2 separate regions of the Homo sapiens genome follow, and region 1 is linked to region 2. Evidence: promoter capture Hi-C in human tissues and cell types (Jung and others, 2019). All regions are on one chromosome and are shown on one strand. The core of a region is centred on a gene start or on the middle of the fragment in contact, and the rest is flanking DNA. Distances in the headings are between cores, read along the strand shown.

Evidence for each region. The method cuts DNA at HindIII sites, captures the fragments that hold promoters and counts their contacts. A contact is called where the count stands out against the background at its distance.
Region 1: a fragment that was not itself captured here is called in contact with the fragment with the promoter of KIF1A in region 2 in 1 of the 25 tissues and cell types used here (dorsolateral prefrontal cortex).

Annotation. Positions count from the first base shown.
Region 1 is chr2:241,345,972-241,348,671 of GRCh38, forward strand. It overlaps SEPTIN2 (septin 2), which reads left to right. Exons shown (of 13, transcript NM_004404.5): 10 at 195-278; 11 at 2,163-2,220. Among named protein-coding and RNA genes, the nearest start is that of FARP2, 9.0 kb to the right of the region's middle. The HindIII fragment of the contact is 3,473 bases long and covers 1-2,700 here.
Region 2 is chr2:240,818,957-240,821,656 of GRCh38, forward strand. KIF1A (kinesin family member 1A) reads right to left here and starts at 1,263. Exons shown (of 49, transcript NM_001244008.2): 1 at 1,166-1,263. RefSeq lists an enhancer at 1,675-2,249. The HindIII fragment of the contact is 12,815 bases long and covers 1-2,700 here.

The DNA.
Region 1 (2,700 bases), core at 98-2,597, 530 kb after region 2:
GAAAGGGAGAGCTACACCTCACTAGACATTTCCACGGCCATACTCATTATCCTGAAATCCCAGCAGCTTTATGTACAATTTACCAAGTAATTTTAATTACTGCTATTTCTTCTATGTACTTGATGGGTGGTTTTTTTTCTCATGAGAATGTCATGTGCATGATGCCACCTTGGTGCATTCCTCTTCTCTTTCAGCACCCACATGCAGGATCTCCAGGAGGTGACCCAGGACCTTCATTATGAAAACTTCCGTTCTGAGAGACTCAAGAGAGGCGGCAGGTCATCACACTGTGCCCCTTTCTCTGTATTGTGTCACCCTGAGCCACAATGTTCCTCCTCCTCTATGTGTTCAGCTCAGCCTTCTTGACCATTAAGCAACATGGTTTGGTTTCCTACTCAAAAGTTATTATAAAAGAGTTGTTAATTTAATCAAATTATGCTCTTTTAGCCTTTTTAAGAAAAAGTACATTTAATGATATGCACGTAAAAACTTTAGGCCAGGCACGGTGGCTCATGCCTGTAATCCCAGCACCTTGGGAGACCAAGGCAAGGTAGATTGCCTGAGCGCAGGAGTTTTGAGACCATGAGATTACATGGTGAAGTCCCATCTCTACAAAAATTTAAAAAAAAAAAAATTAATTTAGCCGGGCATGGTGGCACACACCTATAATCCCAGCTACTCGGGAGGCTGAGTTGGGAGGAGCAGTTGAGCCTGGGAGGTGCAGTGAGCCATAATTGCACCACTGCACTTTATCCTGGGCAATAAAACAAGACCCTGTCTCAAAAAACAAACAAAAACTTTAGATGGAAAGGCCAGAGGCTTGTGTCGAGTTCTCCTTCAAAAGCATCACTCTGTACGTGAGGACAAACTTGTTGCCATTAGGAAACTGCAGCACCTGAGTTAAGGGTGAGGCCAGGATGAGTGGCATCCAAGCAGCCAGTGGCCGTTGAAGCAGCAGCTTCGATCCTCGCAAAGTCCTGCAGCCATCCTCACTCACCTTTTCTTTTTAACCATTCTAATATGTTTTTATATAAGTTTTCTGGGAGGCCAAGGCAAGTGGATCACTTGAACCCAGTAGTTTGAGACCGGCCCTGGCAACATAGGGAGACCTCGCCTCTATAAAAATTTTTTTTAAATTAGCCAGATGTGGTGGTGCATGCCTGTGGTCCCAGCTACTAGGGGGAGGATTCCTTGAGCCCAGTAGGTCCAGGCTGCAGTGAGCTATGGTCGCACCACCACGCTCCAGACTGGGCAACAGAGTGAGACCCTGTCTCAACAACAAAAGTTTCCTGTGTTGTAATTCATTAAAATTCTCACATTCTAATAATTTGATGGATTTCTAGATACATATGTTGTACACATTGAAGTCTAATTATGAGTTTGGAAATGAGACATTAAGAAAGATTTTAGAGGCAGCAAGAAAATTCCACCCTCTGGAAGCTGAGTAGGCGCTGGCCCTGAGATGGAGATTAGTGTGCTTTGCAGAGCACAGTTCTCAGGTGTGCTTGGGGAGCTTACCCTTTGCCCCTCGTTCACTCACGCAGATCCTGCTCCTTAAATGTGGTGACTACATTCGCATTAATAAAGAATAACATCTCAAAGCAAATTCTTCAGATAATACCTATTTTTGAGTGGGTAACAGCAAGTGTTGTCGCTCAAGCTTAGAGTAAGAAAAGTCTCTTGAATGTTCCATTTCATGTTGTTCGAACTTTTTAAAATCATTCTGTTCCCTTTTTATTCATTATATCTTTAATTAGAAAAATGATAGGCTGGGCGTGGTGGCTCATGCCTGTATTCCCAGCACTTTGGGAGGCCAAGGTGGGCGGATCACTTGAGGTTCAACACCAGCCTGGCCAACGTGGCAAAACCCCATCTCTACTAAACACAAAAAAAATTAGCTGGGCGTGGTAGCACGTGCCTGTAATGCCAGTTACCCAGGAGGCTAAGGTGGGAGAATTGCTTGAACCTAGGAGGTGGAGGTTGCAGTGAGCCAAGATCATGCCACTACACTCCAGCCCGTGCGACAGAGTGAGACACCATCTCAATATAAAAAGAGAAATGATAAATACATGTCATTTTAAATTTTAAAGTAGAATTTTTTGGGGGGGTAGCAAATAACTATTTGTTGCAGTGTTATGATTCTGATTTCTTTCGATTCTTAGGAAAGTGGAGAATGAGGACATGAATAAAGACCAGATCTTGCTGGAAAAAGAAGCTGAGGTAAGTAGGAAAGTACTATTGGTTGGTTGGTTGGTTGGTTGTTTTGTTTGTTTTGAGACAGAGTTTTGCACCATTGCCCAGGCTGGAGTGCAGTGGCGTGATCTCGGCTCACTGCAACCTCTGCCTCCCGGGTTCAAGTGATTCTCCTGCCTCAGCCTCCCGAGTAGCTGGGACTACAGGTGCCCGCCACCATGCCTGGCTAGTTGTTTTTGTATTTTTAGTAGAGACGGGGTTTCATCATGTTGGCCAGGCTGGTCTCGAACTCCTAACCTCAGGTGATCTGCCCACCTTGGCCTCCCAAAGTGCTGGGATTACAGGTGTGAGCCACCGTGCCCAGCCAAAAAGTACTATTCTTGTGACTGAAGGTGTTTTGTTTACATCCGTAGATATCATTGGTAATTAACTTAAAGTTTATAGTTTTTTTTTTAATTTGTTGAGGAGGATACATATAACTACTTTATTACTATATATACACATCTA
Region 2 (2,700 bases), core at 13-2,512:
AAGTCCCTATTCCCGGGGACGTGGGCGCGCATCGGGTCCGCGCCGGGCGACGTCGCGCTCGCGCCCAGCAGGCCCCATGACTTGGCATTCCCTCCTTCCCCTCCCCCTCCCGCCCCTGCGGCCGGCAGGGCCCCCCCAACCCCACCTACCGGCGCCCAGCGCCCCGCTCCTGCGGACCCTCCCTCCCGGCGGGGATGCTGCCCCGGCCCTTCCCAGCGAGAGGGCAGCGCGGCTGGTTTGGGGGAAGTCAGCGTGAGGAGCGGCTTAAAGCGGGAGTGCGAAGGTCTTCGCGGCCACTGTTCCTTCGTGTCATCCGAGCCCGGGCGCCGGGGGCGCGCCGCCAGCCTAGACCCTGCGGCCCCGCAGCCCCTCCCTCGCCGCCGGGCCACACCTGTTACAGGGGCGCTGGCTGCTGAGACGCAGGCAGTGCTCGCCGGCGGCCCCTCCCAGGTGCTGGGTCTTTCTGGAAGGGAGCTGGGGTCTCTGGCGTGGGAGGGGGTGATGGGCAGGCCGGCCGTGCAACGAAGCGGGTGGCCAGGCCCCAACGCCGCAGCCCCCGCCCCGCCCGCCTGTTTTGCTCCCGGCTCCAGCATCCGCCCTCCCCCACCCCGGGAACCGGAGCAGCTGCCCGCGCCCGGCCGCCCTGCGCGCTCTCCCCTCGGGCCGAGGCGCTGCAGCCGCGCACCCTCCCAGGTGCGGCGTCAGCGTCCTCAGCCCCGCTCACCATCCCTCCCCTCCCCCGCCGTCTGGGCGCAGCCCCTCCCGCAGCCCCGCCGGTGGCTCCTCTCCAGGGAAGCGGAATAGCCGGGGAAGGGCGGGGGTATCCCGATCCCGCCGGCCGGGCGAGCCCTCCCGAGGGCGACCCCCGCCCGCCTAAGCCGAGGGTCCCGCTGCAGCCGAGATCGCGGCAAAGGGACCTTTTCCAGCGGCACCTGAAGGGCGGACACCCCTGAATTTCCCCCATTGTTCTCTGCGGAGATGGAGGAAGGTCTGGAAGTGAAGGGGCCTCGCAGTGCCTGCGCTTTGGGCGGCAACAAGGGCGCCGGGCCGGAGCTCCCCGCCCTGGGCGCAGTGGGTGCAGGTGCGGGCTGCGGGCGCGGGCTGCCGGGCGCAGGTGCGGGGCGAGGGGCGCGGGCGCGGGAGGCCGGGCGGGCGGCGGCCTTACCTCTCCGGCGTCACTGGCGGCGGCCCCGCATGGGCACTGGCATGGGCGCGGGCTCTCGAGCCCGGAGCTGCTGCCGCTCGCCGGCTGCTCTGCGCTGTGACGGCGCCGCCGCGTGACGGGCTGCGCGCCCCCGGCCCGGACCGCCCCGCGCCCCTCCCGAGGCGCTGGTTGGCTGCGCGCGGCGTCCGAGCTCCAGTCGCCAGCTGGTTTGTCGCGCGGGGAGAGGGACGGGCGACGCGGCCGCCGCGGGGATGGGGCTGGGGACGGAGGGGGCCGGGGCCGGGCTGTGACGTCACCGCTGACACCGCGGCGGGCCCCGCGGAGGGTGGGGGACCGACACCCGGCTCGGACGCAGCGTCCCCTCCCCCGGCGTGCCCCTGAGACCTCGCGGGGGAGGGACCCGGCGGCGCCCCGTCCCGAAGCCCCGCGTGCACCTGAACTTGCCCGCGGACCCCTCGCCGGGCCGTCCCCCACCCTGGCCCCTTTCGAGTGAAATCGTAAAACGTCCACCTGCCCCCGCTCTGAGCCAGCGACAGACGCATCGTGGGGGGCGGGCGGGGCTGGGGAGGGAGGGCTCCTTGCGCCAGGGATGCTGGCTCCGGGTGTAACAGGTGCGCGGTGAAATCGCATCTTGTGTCGGGGCCGGGGCGCCGGGGGAAGAGCAGCAGTGACCCAGGCCCTCCCCGCCGGATGATGCAACCCGCCCGCGGACCCGCCGCCTCGCCTCTACCGCGGCTCGTGGGGACCCCCCGCCCTCCTCTCGCCCCACCTCTCCAGGCCCCCATTGTCCTCACCCCAGCCTGTCCAGTTTAACTTCCTTGGACCCCCAAGTCACACGCCGCTCGGGGGCCACCCCGGCAAACCCCAGCCTGCGTCACCCGCCCCCAGCCGCCTTCCTAGTTCCAGGGGCTGACTGGTATCTCTGTGCGCGCCACCGTCCTCCCTCCACCGTCCCAGGGCTGGGCAACTTCGACAAAGCCTCTGGGCAGCTCGCCCATGGGAACCTCCCCGCACTGCGGTGCGGGGGTGCACGGATTTCGGGCCACCCTGAACCCCGGGGCTGGGTCCCCTCCAGCCCAGCCCCTGCCATCGAGCCCCTGCCATGGGCATCCTGGCGTCGCCTGGCTAAGCCTCCCTGGCGCCCAGCAGGGGCCTGCGCTGCCCTAGCGGCCTCGCCGTTAACCATTTCATCCACACTCCTGGGAGAGCCGGCTTCACCTCAGTCCCGACAGCTGCGTGCGAGCGCCTTGCAGGTGGCTGGGGGAGATTCACATCCACTTCTGCAAGACACGGGCCCCCCACTCCCAGCCCCAGCCCCGCCGAAACCAGCTAGACAGCTCCTCCTCCTTCACTATTTCCTGGAACCGCCGGCATGAAAGAGAAATCAATTGTTCTTCCTAACCCTGGCAGAAACAATAAAACCATCTGGGCTTCTGGGGCTGGGGTCTTTATCACCTCCGTTTTCCTCATGCTTTTTAATCTGGCAAGTTCTCTATTTCTCGAGGCAATAGACATTTTTCTAGGAATTAATCTAT